Linked DNA regions of Homo sapiens: regions 1, 2, 3, 4, 6 and 7 are each linked to region 5. The links are contacts of gene promoters, found by promoter capture Hi-C in blood cells and fetal thymus (Javierre and others, 2016). All regions are on one chromosome and are shown on one strand. The core of a region is centred on a gene start or on the middle of the fragment in contact, and the rest is flanking DNA. Distances in the headings are between cores, read along the strand shown.

Region 1 (2,700 bases), core at 144-2,643, 430 kb before region 5:
GCTAAGGTTCACTTATGGACTCACTTGGTCCACGGGCCCCAAGTTAAGAATGCATTTTGCAGATTATCCATGCTTTATTAGTACCTGTTTATCCGCTAATTAGAACGACAATCTTAATCTAGGCCACAATATTTTCTGAAGCTCAAGAAAATAATTTAGGGGAGGAAGAGAGGAAGATGGAAATAGACAAATTTTCACTACAAGGCACTGTGATCTAACTATTTTTACCTGTTCTCCCTTCTATCAGCACAATTAAGAGTATGCACAATTAAGAGTATAACATTCCACTTTTATTACTACGAGCTAACAACTGTTCATACTTACTGACAGGTGAACAAAATTACAAATTATTCAATGTTCTCCAGCTTAGCTTTCATACTTTAGCTTACATCTTTTAATTTATATTTCATTTTCCAAAACAAATTTTAACAATTTTAATTAAAATATGTGTTTATTAAGTCCTTTTAGCAAATACAGTGCTAAGCACTTTGTTTTCTTACAATCTCATTAAGACAGTAGTAGCTTTATTATTATTCTATTTCCACCAATGAGGAAATGAGAGTTTACAGAACTTAACTCATTTGTCATCATCACTCGTTCACAGGTGATGAAGCAGGACTAGAATCCATGTCTATCTAGATCCAAGGCCACTTTTTTTTTTTAAATAGAGATGGGGTCTCGCCCTGTAGCCCAGGCTGGTCTCGAACTCCTAGGCTCAAGTGATCCTCCACCTCAGCCTCTCAAAAGTGAGAGGCATGAGCCACCACACCCGGCCAGGCCACACTCTTCTTAACCACTACATTCTAGGGCAACATGAGATAAACCACAGGCTCTCGGTGGTTTGGAGGCAAACACTTTGATATTCTGATGAGACCTAAGAATTACTGCCTAAAACTGCACATATGAAAATCTCCTTTATAATTTCATTCCCATCCACAGACTCTTGGTTAAAAATTCTTAATACAGGGATTAAAAATAAGCTAGAATACAAGTGTATTAGGAATGGGAACATATAACTCCCACCCCATCTCTACCAATAACTAGTGATGAGATTTTAGGAGAATGATTTTGTTTCTCTGGATTTCATTTTATTCAGTGGCAAACTTATAGATCCTGAAATCAGAAGTGTAGATTTTTTTCCTAGTATAACATGTTGCCACCTAGCTGTAGTTACAATAATTAAAACTCAAGATTATGACTCAGACACAACATTTCTCAGCAAATCATTGTGGACTATTAAAGTTCATCTTCAATCATAAACATATTAGTATTATGCAATATTCATCTAGTCCATCCCTAATGCAACAGCAACCACTCCTAAACTTACTGAAATTCAGTGAGACTCAGAAAAGAAATGTCAATAATGATGGTACAGAATGTTTACATAAATAAAATCTACAAAGTCTTTTGCAACAAGTATATCTGCCAACTCTACTGAGAGAGGAAAAAAGGATATTACCATAGAGCAAATGTTATTTGAAGTTAAACTACTCAGCTAAACTCTATGTTCAGCTAGACTGTATACCTCAGAACATTCATTTATGTATCACTGCATTTAACATGTTCATTGGCTACTGCACACAATGCTTCAAACATTCTTACCCATAAAATTTTTTAGAAGGACTAAGTTTAAGTTAAAGTAATTTTTATTTTCATTGGTTTATTCAAGGGAAAAAAATTATTAGCAAAGACTAGTTAAAATCACATTGAGGAACAGGAATCCTTTTTATAAACTTTGATTATATTAACATGTTTTCCTAAAATTTTATTTCCTATAGTCTCAATATATGTATTATTTAGAAATTGGTCTAATACACATAATTATAGAAACGGAACAGATATTAAGTGGCTTAAAAGTATCCCCTACCACAATGACTTTTCTTTTTTAAGGATTAAGATTGTTACAAGCCTTTAGCTATACCATAAAAATTATTTAATCTCTCAAAATAGTTACTTTTCAGAATTTCTGTGACTCTCATATCCCTAAATAAGCAGGGGTCAAAGAAAGAAACTGATATTTATGCCCATGTTTTAAAAACAGAATCATGATCGACCTCATGAGTAAAGATTTAATAAATATTGACAAACTGTCATTTAGTAACTAATGGTATCTAACCCAACACCCTAAAAAGAAAATGTGACAATAAAAATCGCAACTTATAACACAACTCACAAAAATTAGTCTTCGAAATACCTAAAGATGCATACCTCTGTGTCCAGGAATTGATATAAGTAAATATTTTGAGAGTATGTTCCTTTCTGAGCTGCAGTCCATCACCACCTTCTACATCTGATACTGAAATAAAAAAGAAATTTTAAAATTATGAATAATGCTAAACCAGTATTAAAGCCAACAGTTCAAAATAAAGCCAAGAGCTACAAATGCAAACATTTCAGATAATCATTCTTTTGCTTCCAAAGAAAATAAGTCTACTTTTAATTAATAACTCATATGGACTTAAGAACAGATTTTTGACAGATGTAAGGGGTGGGGGGGGCAGTGAGACTTTGCCACTTATTCTGGGATTATCTCTCATCTCCAAAACCAGCCTTCCGTTGTGATGCTGAGGCTGGGACCATGCAATCTACATTTTTCATTTCCAGCTGTCTTCCTGTTAAGATCTTGTTCTCCAGTGCCTATAGGGTACTAGAAGAAGAAGGCAGGAGGAGAGACCAAAGACTTGTCAGCTTGCTATATCT
Region 2 (2,700 bases), core at 128-2,627, 300 kb before region 5:
CAGACTTAATTACCCAGGTGGTATTTGCATTCCTCCAGGCAGAAGCATCATTGTTGTGATAGACCAGTAGGCTCAACTCAAGGAAGCTATGGAGAAGAACTAAGAAGATTTTATGAATGACACCAGTATAAACAGTTTCAGCCTCTTCCTCCCTTACCGGGATACAAACCTCCCTATCACATGCAAACTTTTCAGATTTCCAATTGAAAATAGAGTGGGCCAGGAGGCCAAGAAACCCATGCTATACACAGATGAGTCCAAAGGTTTAGAGAGCTCCCATCCACTGACTCTTTCTAGCATTTTCAAAATCCAGGATGGTCCACAATGGCCTGTCTTCTAAGTTCATGCTTCCGCTCCATGGCTAGAAAAGACTGGAGGCAAGTCAATGGAGTTCTTCACCCAGTCATGTACAGTCTTTTCTAGTAGGGTCAGCTCTGATGCTAGAGAAAGATACAAAGAGACAAAAGGTAGTCCTTGAAATAAGTAAGCCTGGGAAAGACCAGCAAGGGGTCGTTGAACGTTTAAACAGCTCTTCATCACCTTTCCATCAAAAGAGTTTACTTGTTCCTAATACCCCATTGAAAATGTAGAATGTGGCCTGTTGGGGCTTCCAGCTTCCTATTATCCTGTTACAGAGCTCAGCACAGCTATCTGGATGCTCTGGCTGAATCCTCGTCATGAGAGATGTGAGTGCCCTTCCATGAACTGGAACCAAGAAGGGAAGAACAAGCCTTCCCTTTCCTTTCTGCCATGGTCTTTTCACACTCCAAAGCAGTTCTCTCCAGAGAGGACCCAGAGGACTGTAGGCAGCCCTAAGGCCATCAGGGGCAACTCCTAGAAGAATTATCTTCTGGTCTCTTCCTTTAGGGAAGCAAAACTGAGGATGAAGCCAGTGTTTTTTCTCCCTTATAGTTTTTCTAATAGATGAATGGTGTGGGTAAGAAGAGTGCTTTCAGGCATTTAAGCTTTAGTGGGACTGAAAGATTTGCAAGTGAAAGATACATTGCCAGGTGAGGGTGGGGGTTAGGGGGAAGGGTAGCTAAGGGAGGAAAAGAGGACCACTAAAGGACCCTAAAGGGTCAAAAAGAGAGCCAGTAAGGAAGACAGAGTAAATGGAGCTTCCAGGACAAACTCTGCCTGTCCTGGAATCTAGAGAAAGAAGTAGAATCACATGCAGATCTAAAAAGGCAACCAGCCGGACGTCATAATGAGGTTCTCGGTAGGAGAGCATGAGAGAATTTGCTTTTATTGGCCCCAGCAAACATGAAACCCCCAAGGTCTTATGCATAACGTAACTTCATTGGTTGTTGAAGGCTCAAGCAAACAACTTATACTGTGGAAATAACTGGCATACAGAAAAACACACAAGATTTACTCAGGGGACAAGAACACCTTTATTTATGAATTCCACATCTATATTTCAAATTCTGCTCCTACAGGGGACATATGACTCTGCAATAACTCCACATGTGGAGAGACAGGTTTGAGCTGTACCAAAAAAAGTGAATTTCACAGGACCAAACAATATTTGTATAAATGCTGCCACATTTTTAAAAAATTGGAGTAGTAAAATGGGACAGAGAAAAATGTTTGGAATCAGAAGATGTGGATTCTCCTCCCAGTTCTGCCCTTATTAGAGCTCTTTGCCATTATGATCAAACTACTAGAAGGTTCCTAAGATCTTTTCTGGCTCAATGATAGTACTTCTGTGTATTCTTTTCTTCTTGAAGATGAAAGCGTATACAGAGAAGTGCAGACATATTTTTTTCACTAGGAATTTTGTGAATGTGAAGCTTAAGGAAGTTTAAGGAAGCATTCTCCATACTAATTCAGTCAATTATTCACTTAAATAATATTTTTTTGAGTCCCACGATGTTTTATGTGCTGTGCTGGGGCTGGGAAGACAATGATTATTTCCATAGGCAGAAAAGGACCAAACAATAACAATGTTTTTTCAATACTTGGATCTATAATAAAGTAATCACACATCGTTTCATAAATTTAATGTTTAGATTTGTTAAAATTTAATTCTTTAAATTTTAAAGTTTTATCCTTAACAACTGGGGGGTTCATTTACTTGTATTGTTGGATTTTTTGTTGTTAAATACCTGGGAGTTGTTATTTATGTATTTATTGATTGATTTATTCTTTGAGACAGGGTCTTACTCTGTCTCCCAGCTGGAGTGCAGTAGCATGATCTTGGCTCACCGCATTCTCTGCCTCCTGGGTCCAAGGGATTCTCATACCTCAGCTTCCCAAGTAGCTGGGATTGCAGGTGTGCACCACCACACCTGGCTAATTTTTTTTTTTTTTTTTTGAGATGGAGTCTTGCTCTGTCTCCCAGGCTGGAGTGCAGTGGTGCCATCTTGGCTCACTGCAGCCTCTGCCCTCAGGGTTCCAGTGATTCTCCTGCCTCAGCCTCCTGAGTAGCTGGGATTACAGGCACATGCCACCACACCCGGCTAATTTTTGTATGTAATTTAGAAATGAGGTTTTGCCATGTTGGACAGGCTGGTCTCGAACACCTGACCTCAGGTGATCCACTTGCCTCGGCCTCCCAAAGTGCTGGGATTACAGGTTTGTGCCACCACACCCAGCCAAATGTTTTAATTTTTAGTAGAGACAGGGTCTCACCATGTTGGCCAGGTTGGTCTCGAACTCCTTACCTCAAGTGATCCATCGGCCTTGGCAAGGCTGGTC
Region 3 (2,700 bases), core at 188-2,687, 360 kb before region 5:
AGAATTATCCATCATAATGGCCAGGCGAGGTGGCTCACACCTATAATCCCAGCACTTTGGGAGGCTGAGTCGGGTGCATCACCTGAGGTCGGGAGTTCAAGACCAGCCTGACCAACATGGAGAAACCCTGTCTCTACTAAAAATACAAAATTAGCCAGGCACAATGGTGCTTGCTTGTAATCCCAGCCACTTGGGAGGCTGAGGCAGGAGAACTGCTTGAGCTCGGGAGGCAGAGGTTGCAGTGAGCCGAGATCACGCCATTGCACTCCAGCCCGGGCACCAAGAGTGAAACTCCATCTCAAAAAAAAAAAAAATCCACATAATTACCAAAGCAAAAGCCATTACGCTTCCCTTACCCTAAACCATATTTATAATCCCAAATGGTAAAAACGAACACAAACGCCTTTTTGTCTACATCTACTTAAGAATGAAGTAATATAGTTCTATTTTTTTTTTTTTGGGACGGAGTCTCGTTCTGTTGCCCAGGCTAGAGTGCAGCGGCGTGATCTCGGCTCACTGCAAGCTCTGCCTCCCAGGTTCACGCCATTCTCCTGCCTCAGCCTCCTGAGTAGCTGGGACTTACAGGCGCCCGCCGCCACACTCAGCTAATTTTTGTATTTTTAGTAGAGACAGGGTTTCACTGCGTTAGCCATGATGGTCTCGATCCCCTGACCTGGTGATCCGCCTGCCTCGGCCTCCCAAAGTGCTGGGATTACAGGCATGAGCCACCACACCCAGCCTATTCCTATTTTAATATCAAATGAGAATGGAAATTACAGTATTTTTTTTTTTTTTTGAGACAGAGTCTTCCTCTGTCACCAGGCTGGAGTGCAGTGGCATGCTCTTGACTCACTGCAAGCTCCGCCTCCTGGGTTCAAGCCATTCTCCTGGCTCAGCCTCCCGAGTAGCTGGGATTACAGGCGCCCACCACCATGCCTGGCTAATTTTTGTATTTTTAGTAGAGACGGGGTTTCACCACGTTGGCCAGGATGGTCTCAATCTCCTGACCTAGTGATCCACCCGTCTCGGTCTCCCAAAGTGCTGGGATTACAGGCGTGAGCCACCGAGCCCGGCCCAGATTTTTCATTTATTTTTTTTTTTTTGAGACAGAGTCTTGCTCTGTCGTCTCGGCTAGAGAACAGTAGCTCAATCTCGGCTCACTGCAACCTCTGCCTCTTGGGTTCAAGTGATTCTCCTGCCTAAGCCTCCTCAGTAGCTGGGATTACAGGCATGTGCAACCACGCCCAGCTAATTTTTGTATTTTTAGTAGAGACGGGGTTTTGCCATGTTGGCCAGGCTGATCTCGAACTTCTGGCCTCAGGTGATCCGCCCGCCTCGGCCTTCCAATGTGCCAGGATTACAGGCGTGAGCCACCACACCTCGCCCAGATAATAAATTATAGAAAGACACACATAAAAGCACTTATGGATCACACATACATGTTAAAAGGCTTGAATTCAATACATTTGTAAAGAACACGTCTTGTTAAATCCCATGAAAACTTTTAAGAAAAGGTAGAAATACTTACTTTGGTTGCCTGCTGGATTATACTATCCCACACTTGATTAGGGAGTAACATGTACTTTTCTATCAAGTGTTCTTGTACTGTTTGATCTGTTTGTGCACCAATCATGTACCCCACAGCTTCATAAAACGTATGAACCTATTTTAAAAAGCAGACATTTTAACGTTTATGTTATACACCCTAATAAGGAAAACCACACACAAGCAATTCACAAACGTCTTGAAACTGATTTTGGCCCAGGTGCAGTGGATCACTCCTGTAATCCCAATACTTTGAGAAGCCAAGGCAGGCCAATCACTTGTGGTCAGGAGTTGCAGACCAGCCTGACCAACGTGGTGAAACCCCATCTCTTCTACAAATACAAAGAAATTAGCCAAGCGTGGTGGCAGGTGCCTATAATTCCAGTTACTTGGGAGGTTTGAATTGCTTGAACCTGGGAGGCAGAGGTTGCAGTGAGCCGAGATTGCAATACTGCACTCGAGCCTGGGTGACAGAGGAAGACTCCACCTCAAAAAACAAACAAACAAACAACCCAAACTGGCCAGGCATGGTGGTGGCTCACGCCTGTAATCCCAGCACTTTGGGAGGCCGAGGCGGGCGGATCATGAGGTCAGGAGTTGGAGATGAGCCTGACCAACATGGAGAAACCCCGTCTCTACTAAAAATAAAAAAATTAGCTGGGCGTGGTGGCAAGCACCTGTTAATCATAGCCACTGAGGAAGAGAATCGTTTGACCCCAGGAGGCAAGGCTGCAGTGAGCCGAGATTGCGCCACTGCACTCCAGCATGGACGACAGAGTGAAACTCCATCTCAAAAAACAAACACACACACACACACACACACACACACACACACACACCCCAAAACAAAACAAAACAAAAAACACCTGATTTTGTTTGTTCGGAATAATTTTACATAGGACAACAGCCTAACAATCTTCTGGTCAAGAATCTGTCTCACTATGAAAATTTAACCAGGCTGGGCGTGGTGGCTCACACATATAAAATCATTTTGGGAGGCTGAGGCAAGCGTATCGCTTGAAGCTAGGAGTTCAAGACCAGCCTGGGCCACTTGGCAAAACCCCATCTCTACCAAGGGGGGGAAAAAGGTTAGCTGAGTGTGATGGCAGTGCATGCCTGTAGTCCCAGCTACCCACGAGGCCAAGGTGGGAGGAT
Region 4 (2,700 bases), core at 79-2,578, 470 kb before region 5:
TTTCTGAAAACTATCAGTACCATATTTTTCAAGACTAAATTCTCCAGTATAAACAGTATGCTTTCATACTGTGACAAATAGTACTATATGTTCGCATACGCTTTTAAAAGAGAGAAATGTGGCCAGACACAGTGGCTCACGCCTGTAATCCCAACACTTTGGGAGACTGAGGCAAGTGGATGGCTTGAGTCTACAAGACTAGACTGAGCAACATGGCAAAACTCTGCCTCTGCAAATATCACAAAAATTAGCCAGGCATGCTGGCATGCGCCTATGGTCCCAGCTATCCGGGAGGCTGAGGTGGGAGGATCACCTGACCCTGGGAACTTGAGGCTGTAGTGAGCCATGGTCCCACCACTGTACTCCACCCTGGGCAACAGAGCAAGACCCTGTCTCAAAAAAAAGAGGGAGAGTGAGTTATGTTACAGACAGCATAATGTTCTGAAAGCTTCATGAAGAACTGTACACAATGTCAAAGGGCAAAGAATTTCTAGTAAAAATTTTAAATCTAAAAATTAGAATTTACCATATAAACAACTGTACATTAAAATGGTATACTTATATATAAATTAATGCTCCTACTTACGTTTCTGTGTCCGATACTAATGATTCATTATTGCACACATCATTGAAGGTATGGAGTTGATTCTATGATTAAAGACAAGAAATTAAGGGTTTTTATTTCCAAAATTATTCTTGCATTTGTCAGCAAATACTAACATGGTAAACTGATTGACATATGTAGATCACAATAACTAGATTAATATTATAAAATCTAAGACATAATCAGAGACACACGCTTCCCAATTACTAAAACTATTTCTGTTATATTAAAATACTAAATAATGGCCAGGCGCAGCGGCTCACACCTGTAATCCCAGCACTTTAGGAGGCCAAGGCAGGTGGATCACCTGAGGTCAGGAGCTCTGAGACCAGCCTTACCAACACAGTAAATCTCCATCTCTATTAAAAATACAAAATTAGCTGGGTATGGTGGCATGCGCCTAAAACGCGAGCTACTCAGAGGCTGAGGCACGAAAATCACTTGAACCCAGGAGGCAGAGGTTGCAGTGAGCCAAGATCGCGCCACTGCACTCCAGCCTGGGCGACAGAGTGAGAGTCCATCTCAAAAAAACGAAAAAAAAAAAAAAAAAAAAAAAACAACACTAAATTCATTCCACAAATAGTATTCTTTATTACACTAAGTGCACTGGAGAAAATAAAGCTGAGTAAGTAAAAAAACACAACAATTTAACGCAAGAGAGCAAGTAATATGTCATTATAGACAAAGTTTCAGGAAAGACTCCCCAGATAAATCCACTCAAGATTTAATTTATCTGGGACAATATCAACAAGTATCTTTTATATTTATGAAACCCGGTACACAAGTAAACTCCACCTATTTCACATTTTCAGTGTGACTACACTACCAAAACAAAACAAAACAAAAACAGTAATGTGGCCAGGTGGGGTGGCTCACGCCTGTAATCCCAACACTTTGGGAGGATGAGGCGGGTGGATCACCTGAGGTCAGGAATTCCAGACCAGCCTGGCCAACACGGTAAAAACCCATCTCTACTAAAAATGCAAAAAATTAGCTGGGTGTTGTGGCGCACACCTGTAGTCCCTGCTACTCAGGAGGCTGAGGCAAGAGCATCGCTTGAACCCAGGAGGTGGAGGTTGCAGTAAGCCGAGATCATGCCATTGCACAACAGAATGGGACTCCATCTCCAAGAAAAACCAAAAAACAAAACAAAACAAAACAAAAACCCAGAAATGTAAAGGAGTAAAGCAAATGGGGACTGCAACAAACCGGAGAAAGCATATTCATTCTGAGGGATAAAGTTAATTACTTAGTTCTAACAGACTGTTGTTATGCAAGAATACAGACCCAAGAATACCAGGCCTTCTTCCAACCCCCTCACCAAGAGAAGCCAAGAATACAGATTTTCATGTTACTTTGTCCTATTTAAAAACAGTATTTAAGACTATTCAAAACAAACATTTAGTAAAATTTGGCCTACGGCCCAATAATCTATGGTTTCTGCCTGGAAAATTAATTAACTGCTTATAAAGCCCTCCAATTATTCCTCTTTCTCAAAACATCTATAAACATAAAAACCTAAATAGTTTAAAAAGACAGAAACAAAATGATGAAAGAGTTGGACCCGGAAATCAAATGGACCCACAGTATAAATCCATATAAATCTAAGCTTCAGACTTATTTAAAATAAGAGAAACACAGAAATTATTTGTGAAGACCATATAAAGTAATCCACATAAAATACTTAGCACAATGCCTAGTATGAAGTGCTCCATAAATAGTGGGTAGTATTATGATAGACCAGAAAACAAATAAACGATGACCAAAAATAAAACAAATACAGCTTACTGTTATCTGACTCAATCCAGCCAACCTCATAGTCAAAGTAGGTGACATAAAGTACTTAAATGCAAGATCTAGGCTTTCTTTATCAAAGCATAATGTTGTATCCAATGGTTCTTTGACTGTGCTCCACATTAAGTCAGCCATGTTACGAGCTGCACTCTGTCGTAACTCCTGATCCGAGAGCTTGCATAAATACCTGAAATGATTCAGAAATAGAAAATACACAAAAATTCATAAAGCATTTTTAAAGACCACTCAGTAACTTAAAATGTACATTGTAAGCATTAACATTTTTTGTGTCCAAAACCCAC
Region 5 (2,700 bases), core at 88-2,587:
TGTTTGTCTGTTGGTGAAAGATTGGTCACAAAAGGTGTTGCTAAAGATGTTCTCATTAACAATTTTACTGTAGATTAAAGAGATCAGAATTCCAAAATATCCAGTGATTTCAGTTAGTCCTCAATCATAAGTTTGGTGTCTGAGAAGCTTTGGACACATGGTATTAGGAAATTTTTTCTATCTGCAGATTGCTAGTTTAAATTCAAGATTCCCATCTTTTTTTTTTTTTTTTTTTTTTGAGACTGGGTCTGAGATCTCAGCTCACTGCAACCCTCACCTCCCAAGTTCAAGCGATTCTCCTGCCTCAGCCTTCCGAGTAACTAGGATTACAGGGGCGCACCACCACGCCCGGCTAAATTTTGTATTTTTAGTACAGACGGGGTTTCACCATGTTGGTCAGGCTGGTCTCGAACTCCTGACCTCGTAACCCGCCCACCTCGGCCTCCCAAAGTGCTGGGATTATAGGCACGAGCCACCGCGCCCGGCCAAGATTCCCATCTTTTAAGTGAATTGAGCAGATGGCAGACCCTGCCCTCTACCTGCTGGACTGGTGTCCACAACAGATTTAACAATGAAAACTGATCAGTGAAAAGGCCGTCTCGCTGTACCCTAAAGAGCTGTTTAGGAAACACTGAAACCTCAGTGATTTGCTTATCTGTATCCGTGTCTGATTTAGCCAGTGAACACGTGATGGTTTTAAACACACATCTTTAGAGCACTATGTTGAGATCCGCTTATAACCAAGATCTTAAGGTAATAACGAAACACACCTGACAGAACAGTTTTCCTCAAATTACTATATATAGCCAGATATATCTCTATATATCCATTCCCGAGATGCTGGAGAGTAGAGAGTAAAATTCTATACTTTGCACTTGCCAGAAGCAGAGTAACATAAATGTTGTCTAGGAAGCTTTTACAACAGACTGGTGAAAATTAAAACACTTTTCAACGCCTCGATTTAGAGTAATTTTCGTGAGCGTAGAGAAGGGGCTGGGCCAGGACCACCAAGTAGGGACTATGTGCACAGGGACCCGCGTTTACCAGCCTGCCCTCAGCTGGGCGGGGAACCGGACAGCCCTCAGCCTGCACCCAGCCCATGCGAGGTCCCAGCCCAAGTCCCGCCCCAGTATTACCGATGCCCCAGCGGGCTGAGCCACTTTCTCCTCCTCTTCGTCCTCCAAGATCGCCTCCGCTGCCGCCAGGGCCTTTAAGGGGTCTTCGCGTTCGTACTGGGCGACCCGCGCTCCAGTGATGGGATTTACCGGGGTCTGGAGACTGGAGGCCACCAGCTTCGCCACTCGGTGGGAGGTGGCCATCGCCCCGCCTCCGAGGCCTGAGCGCCTGCGCTGGCCCGGGACGGGAAAGCTGGTGCGGCCCCTGGCAACCCGGGGGCGCCTAGCTAGGGAGCCGGTTGCTATGGGCGCCGTAACTGGGGACGCTACAGGAGCCGCCAGGGACCAAAAGTCACGCAAAATCCACTCAGGCTGCCAGAGACCCGAGTCGGGTGCTTACTGGATCATGGCAGTCAGTACCGAGTCTGTTGGCTGGTTCCGAAGGTTGGCAGGCTGAACAGGGCACTTATTCCACTCCTTTGCGTCTAACCGCCTGAACGCAGACTTCTCACATTATACAATGAAACAACTGCTTTTGTGAAGAAAAGAACGCTTTTTTATTAACTGCAATAACATGTTAGAAGGAGACAGTTGATGGAGGAGACGGCGGCGGCGGAGGAAAGCAGGGCGTGTTACTGGGTGGCGGTCTCAGAAGAGTGACAAGGTTGGCGTCCCGCTACCTAACATGTCTCCCGCGGGGGCCAGAGTGGGAAGGAGGGCGGTACATTCTACTCTGATTGACTTGAGGGCTAGCAGGAATCCACCAATCAGAAGGAGGCTCCCAGTTGTCCCTCTCGCTTTTTTCTTGACATGACCAATAAAAGCCCAGAGTTGGGTGGCGCCTGACCCTCCCACTAATGAGTGATAGTGCAGGTATTGTAAACCTGGCGTTTGCTTTGGGTTCTTCAGCTTGAGAGTGACAGGATTGAACGGCACAAGTGCCCAAGAGTCACCACAGACACATCCATCTCCCTCATCCGTATCTTCTCTTCCCACTCGGGATTTGGACGCATCAAATGGCGCCTTCCCTCTGCACCACGTGGCAGTAAGAGAAGCCAAACCTCAAAATAGCGGACGTGGTGCAGTCTCAGACATCTGCTCCCTGAGCCCCTGCTTACTGAGGCCGAGGCTGCCGCCCCCTATCTACTCCCTATCTACCCCCTCTCTATCCTTTGCCCTCCTCCTGCTCCCCAGCCCTACGACCGGCCCCCTCCGGTCAGTATTTTCCTCGTTATGCGCTGCACATCGTCGAGAACCCGTCTCTAAGGTCTGAGCCCTTACCAAACCTTTGTTCTCCTGTCTGGGTGTGAGCACCTACAAAGTCTCCTACGTCCCCACTTCCTTCAGGCTGCTCTTGGTTTTAGCTGAACAGTTGCTTCCCATGCTGGAACAGATGCTGACTGGGTTCTAAGCAGAAGCCAGAGCCAGAACCATGAGATATGCACCGCCAGGTGTGGCCAAGTTTCCAGGGGAGCAATTTCCAGTCAGACACGGCAGCCAGTTTTGTGGCTACAAAACTGCCTCAGCCTCCGGAGTAGCTGGGATTACAGGCGCACTCCCGGGAGGCGGAGGTTGCAGTGAGCCG
Region 6 (2,700 bases), core at 40-2,539, 330 kb before region 5:
GCAATAAGCTCCATTAGAGCAAAATATACTAAAGATTCATTACATGCCCCCTCAAACAGTCAACTACAATAAAAATGCCAGGAAAAACAAAACTCTGAATTTATAATTCTTTATTTTCCTACCTTCGCACTGGTTCCTTGGAAGAATCTTCCACCTTGTTTTTATCACATTTTCCAAAATTTGTAGTCCATAGTACTGAAAATTGGAGAATAGAAGCATGTGAATATATTGCTTATAGGACTGGCAACTCTCAGGATTCACAAATGGACAGACATTCACACATTTACATCTAAAGTTTCAAAAACATTATGCTACCAAGTTTAATTACACATATTAAACAAGTATCTATTCACCCATATACTGAGTTTTCATGCATTTTCCTCATTTTATTGTTTGCTACTCTATATAACGTCCTGCTGTTTATACATGCTCACACCAGGAGGAAGAACCAAATAAAAAGCCCTTTAGCAGCCAAATAGGCTTATCTGTCGAAGGAAAAGTAGCAGCCAGATATGAATTCACAGCATAAATGACTGCTCATAGGCTCACGTACTTTAACACGAACAGGCTCCTAAGAATTTAGCAGCTTGGATGCTATCAAGCTTCCTACCATCCTCTAGGAGTTATAAGCTTTTGGCCAAATATTAAAGTATTGTCACAGATACTTTCTATAGAAAGTGTTTACAAGCATCACTGGTGTGTTACTTAAGGAGCAGCAAGACAACCCATGGGTTTATTTTATATTTTAACCCCACCCTTATAGTTGCTATTTCTACTAATTTAAAGATAAACTTTTGTGCACAGTCAAAATAATCACAAACGCATGTTGCAATCTGTATCTACCTTTCAGGTATTTCTTCCTAAATACTGAAAGTTATAACTAAAAGTATAAAAAATTAAAAAACAGAGATACCACTTTCAAGCCATTTTGTCCCTCCTGCTGATTACTCACTCTAAATAGTCAACAATATTTATAATAATTTATAAAGCCCCAGGAGTTACTACCTGAATTACTATGACCAATTAGTGTGGATAGGCAGGAGGAAGAAAAGGGACAAAACCGTTGTGGTACATTTCAACTGAGAGAATTAGGGAAGAATCAGCTATAATATCTGAAAGGTAAGCTCATTCATATATAGACATATAACCTCAGATTGCAAGTTTTGGCTGAGAATAAGAGTTCATCTTTAAAATGGTTAGTCATTACACAATAAAATAGGAGCATTAGTATTTCAACCAAAGGGATCATGTGAATGCTCATTTTATCCAAAGCACAATATAGACTGTCCCAAACTACATTGTGCTCAAACAGTGAATGTTTTTGCTGTTTTCTTTCATTTTAACATTTCACACTCTTCAAGAAAATTTTGCCATTTCAACTAAAGTACTACATTTGCAGAACATTCCTTAAAAACTTTCAAAATAAAAACAAGGCCAAAGCAAAATTCTAAAATTACAAATTTGATGCTATTAAAATGTTTCATAATCAGCAGTAAATAGTGATGCTTTCTAACCTGTTCACTTTTAAAAACATATCTATTTATTATGTCTAGGTCTGAGAAATATGTAAAAAAAAGAGAGTTGTCCAAATGCCTGAAGTTCTTAATTAGCTTTTAAAAACATACTACCCTAAGCATTTTCTTTAATTTTATAGGCACAAAATCAGATTGTCAAGACTCAGTAAGTCAAAGCAATGCACTGCTTACAATATATCCTCTTGCCAAAAATCAATTAAAAAGCCTTTAAAACACTAAGAAACAAAACCCACCATAAATATAGTTACAAATAAAAATCTTAAAGATAACTTCATCTTATTTAACCAAACTTTTTTACATTTTTAATGGAAAGACACTGTCCTTTCTTTTTTATTTACTTCTTCCTATTTGATACTGTTACCTAAAATTACTATTTACTAACCTGTATTTTCTACAACTGTATAAAGGTAGCATAAGCTTGATGAAGATACAATTCATATTTCATCTTTCTGCCAAGGGGGTTGAAGCAGGGAGCCCAATAAATGCTTTGCCCAGGTTAGGTCAAAGGAATACATCTGTTACTATAATATCCTAAAATCCAATCTCTCCCAGACATAAAGACTTTGCCTATGAAACTAAAACAAAAAAAATTTACATTCCTTTGAAAAAATGTTATTTGGGGCCAGGCAAAGTGGCCCTCGCCTGTAATCCCAACATTTTGGGGAGGCCAAGGCGGGAGGGCCAGGAGTTCAAGATCAGCCTGAGCAACACAGGGAGACCCCACTTCTATAAAAAAATTGGTAAGTTAGCGAGGCATGGTGACACGCACCTGTAGCCCTAGCTACTCAGAAAGTTGAGGCAGAAATGTCACTTAAGCCCAGGAGTTTGAGGTTACAGTGAGCTATAATCACACCACTGCACTCCAGCCTGGGCAACAGAGGTCCTGTCTCTTCAAAGAATTTTTTTTCTTTTTTTTTTTAGTATTTTTGCTCAAAAATCTGAAGTGACAGTCAAATCTGAAAGCCAATGATAAATCACTACAATCCAAACATTCTGAAGAATTATACTTTTGCCTTACATCTCCAAACTTGAGAAATCCACTGCTGAGTTATGAAGATGAGGGACAGATAACAGCAAAGACTAAATGAAAAAATAAATGCATGAAATGATCCCTATGGTAGAAATTTCTACTGAGCCCTTAGAAATACTTATTTTATGCATTGAA
Region 7 (2,700 bases), core at 21-2,520, 390 kb before region 5:
TGCTTAATACATTCTCTACCAAAATAACTTTTATTTTAAGAGATGAAGTCTTGCTATGTTGCCCAGGCTAGCCTTGAATTCCAGGGCTCAAGTGATCCTCCCACCTCAGCCTCCTGAGTAGCTGGGAATACTACAGGCACACATCACCATGCCCTGCTAAAATAACACTTTCTAAAGGATAATATTCAAGACAGGTGAAAGTGCCCTTACACAGGCACGACTACGACTAAAAGATCAATATATCCTTTCTGGCAAGCAAACAGTATGAAAATAATGAAAAATGTTTATATTTTTTGACACAGTAAACTCACGTCTAGAAATCTAAAAGAACCAGGGATGTAGATAAAAGATTTAAGTAGAAAGATGTACATTTGCGGCATTATTCATAATATGGGAGAACTGGAAACAGATATATTAAATTTTATATAAAATGAAATCTTATACAAAAACATGTTTTCAGCCAGACGCGGTGGCTCACACCTGTAGTCACAGCATTTTAGGGGGCCGAGGTGGGCAGATCATGAGGTCAGGAGTTCAAGACCAGCCTGGCCAACATGGTGAAACCTCATCTCTACTAAACGTAACAAAAATTAGTCAGGCATGGTGGCAGTTGCCTGTAATCACAGCTACCCAGGAGGTTGAGGCAGGAAAATCGCTTGAACCCGGGAGGCGGAGGTTGCAGTGAGCCAAGATCAGGCCATCGCACTCCAGCCTGGGGCAACAGAACAAGACTCCATCTCAGGGGGAAAAAAAAAAAAAAGAAAATCAGCCAGGCGTGGTGGCTCATGCCTGTAATCCCAGCAGTTTGGGAGGCCGAGGTGGGTGAATCACTTGAGGCTAGGAGTTTGAGAACAGCCTGGGCAAAACAGTGAAGCCCCATTCCTACAAAAAACACAAATATTAGCTGGGCATGGTGGTACGCACCTGTAATCCCAGCTACTTGGGAAGCTGAGGCAGGAGAATTGCTTGAACCCAGGAAGAGGAGGTTGAAGTGAGCCAAGATCATGCCACTGCACTCCAGCCTGGGCCACAGAGTAAGACTCCGTCTCCAAAAAAAAAAAAAAAATCAATTCAGGAGAACCGGACAAAGTAGCTCACACCCTGTAATCCCAGCACTCTGGGAGGCTGAGGCAAGCGGATCACTTGAGGCCAGGAGTTTGAGACCAGCCTGACCAACATGGCGAAACCCCATCTCTACTAAATATACAAAAATTAGCCCGGCATGATGGCACATGCCTATAATCCCAGCTACTTGGGAGGGTGAGGCACAAGAACTGCTTGAGCCCCCCAAGGCAGAGGGTGCAGTGAGCCGAGACTGTACCAATGCACTCCAGCCTGGGAGACAGAGGGAAACTGTTTCCCAAAAAAAAAAAAAAAAAGGCAGCCAGGTGTGCTGGTATACACACCTATAGTCCCTGCTACTCAGGAGGGTGAGACAGGAAAATCACTTGAGCCCAGGAGGTCAAGTTATAGTAAGCAATAATCACTTCATTGCACTCCAGCCTGGATGACAGAATAAGACTCCATCTCCAAAGGGGGGAAAAAAATTCCAACTTTAGATTAAATGTCTACTGAAAAAGTTATGTTACTAATTGATTTCGTACCTATATACTCATAGTATCTAAAAAGCTCTGGAAACATGTAGTTTTATTAAACGGTTCACTGCAGAATAACAGTATTAAGAAAGATTCTCAGCCGGGTACAGCATACCCCAACACTTTGGGAGGCTGAGGCAGGAGCATCACTTGAGCCCAGGAGCTTGAGGCTGCAGTGAGCTATAATTGGGCCACTGCACCCCAGCATGGGTGATACACTGTCTCTTAAAAAATAATCAAAAATCAAAAAATTTGAAATTTTATTCAATGAAAAAGATTCTTATTCAGCTATACTTATTACCACTTTTGAATTCCTACTACAATTATCACAGAAATTTGTCTGAATTTTTGAAGATACATAAAACACGGTCAGTAATTTTCACTTTGCCAACTGAACAGTGGTGATTCAGATAGATCATCATAAAATTTATACAATGTTAACTAGTAAGAACTTTTAGGCCAGGCAGGATGGCTCACACCCCTAAACCCAACACTTTGGGAGGCCAAGGGAGGCGGATTACCTGGGGTCAGGAATTCAAGACCATCCTGGCCAACATGGTGAAACCCCACATCGACTAAAATTACAAAAATTAGCCAGGCATGGTGGTGCATGCCTGTAATCCCAGCTACTCAGGAGGCTGAGGCAGGAGAATCGCTTGAACCCAGGAGGCGGAGGTTGCAATGAGCCGAGATCATGCCATTGCACACCAGCCTGGGCAACAGGAACAAAATTCCTTTTCAAAAAAAAAAAAAACTCTTAGCCTAATCTGGGATTAAGTCCTGTGGTTCCACCAAACAGTCACATGTGACCCTAAGCAAGTCACATAAATTCTCTAAACCTTAGTTCCCTCATCTGAAAAGGATGACAGAGTACCTCCCTCAAAGAACTGATTAAATCAGCAGCATGCAAAGCATGTAAAGTACTTAAGTACCCAACACAAACTATTCAATAAAGTAATCTGCTTTAAAAATAAAACACACTGAAAGGCCGAGGCAGGTGGATCACCTGACATCATTAGTTCAAGACCAGTGTGGCCAAACTGGTGAAAATTAGTCTCGACTAAAAATACAAACATTAGCTGGGCGTGGTGGCAGGCGCCTCTAA

The links. Contacts are between HindIII fragments. The CHiCAGO score rates a contact against its expected background, and 5 or more counts as called.
Region 1: a contact is called between a fragment that was not itself captured here and the fragment with the promoter of FAM161A in region 5, in 1 of 17 cell types (naive CD4 T cells). The highest score is 5.3, in naive CD4 T cells.
Region 2: a contact is called between a fragment that was not itself captured here and the fragment with the promoter of FAM161A in region 5, in 1 of 17 cell types (M1 macrophages). The highest score is 6.8, in M1 macrophages.
Region 3: a contact is called between a fragment that was not itself captured here and the fragment with the promoter of FAM161A in region 5, in 1 of 17 cell types (megakaryocytes). The highest score is 5.5, in megakaryocytes.
Region 4: a fragment that was not itself captured here is called in contact with the fragment with the promoter of FAM161A in region 5 in 2 of 17 cell types (naive CD8 T cells and naive B cells); the score reaches 5.6 in naive CD8 T cells.
Region 6: a contact is called between a fragment that was not itself captured here and the fragment with the promoter of FAM161A in region 5, in 4 of 17 cell types (erythroblasts, megakaryocytes, naive B cells and 1 more). The highest score is 8.3, in erythroblasts.
Region 7: a contact is called between a fragment that was not itself captured here and the fragment with the promoter of FAM161A in region 5, in 1 of 17 cell types (M1 macrophages). The highest score is 5.0, in M1 macrophages.

The regions. Positions count from the first base shown.
Region 1 is chr2:61,418,538-61,421,237 of GRCh38, forward strand. It overlaps USP34 (ubiquitin specific peptidase 34), which reads right to left. Exons shown (of 80, transcript NM_014709.4): 2 at 2,209-2,296. Among named protein-coding and RNA genes, the nearest start is that of SNORA70B, 2.5 kb to the left of the region's middle. The HindIII fragment of the contact is 2,916 bases long and covers 1-2,700 here.
Region 2 is chr2:61,549,816-61,552,515 of GRCh38, forward strand. No RefSeq gene overlaps it. Among named protein-coding and RNA genes, the nearest start is that of XPO1, 13 kb to the left of the region's middle. The HindIII fragment of the contact is 828 bases long and covers 964-1,791 here.
Region 3 is chr2:61,489,114-61,491,813 of GRCh38, forward strand. XPO1 (exportin 1) reads right to left here. Exons shown (of 25, transcript NM_003400.4): 17 at 1,529-1,663. Among named protein-coding and RNA genes, the nearest start is that of USP34-DT, 19 kb to the left of the region's middle. The HindIII fragment of the contact is 4,286 bases long and covers 1-2,700 here.
Region 4 is chr2:61,377,777-61,380,476 of GRCh38, forward strand. USP34 (ubiquitin specific peptidase 34) reads right to left here. Exons shown (of 80, transcript NM_014709.4): 7 at 2,393-2,585; 8 at 587-648. Among named protein-coding and RNA genes, the nearest start is that of SNORA70B, 38 kb to the right of the region's middle. The HindIII fragment of the contact is 1,765 bases long and covers 447-2,211 here.
Region 5 is chr2:61,852,723-61,855,422 of GRCh38, forward strand. It overlaps FAM161A (FAM161 centrosomal protein A), which reads right to left and starts at 1,338. Exons shown (of 7, transcript NM_001201543.2): 1 at 1,137-1,338. The coding sequence starts at 1,319. RefSeq lists enhancers at 822-951, 1,112-1,271, 1,512-1,741, 2,482-2,531. The HindIII fragment of the contact is 5,666 bases long and covers 912-2,700 here.
Region 6 is chr2:61,522,489-61,525,188 of GRCh38, forward strand. It overlaps XPO1 (exportin 1), which reads right to left. Exons shown (of 25, transcript NM_003400.4): 4 at 123-195. Among named protein-coding and RNA genes, the nearest start is that of XPO1, 15 kb to the right of the region's middle. The HindIII fragment of the contact is 1,322 bases long and covers 629-1,950 here.
Region 7 is chr2:61,461,500-61,464,199 of GRCh38, forward strand. All of the region lies in intron 1 of USP34 (ubiquitin specific peptidase 34), which reads right to left. Among named protein-coding and RNA genes, the nearest start is that of USP34, 8.2 kb to the right of the region's middle. RefSeq lists an enhancer at 2,694-2,700. The HindIII fragment of the contact is 4,536 bases long and covers 1-2,700 here.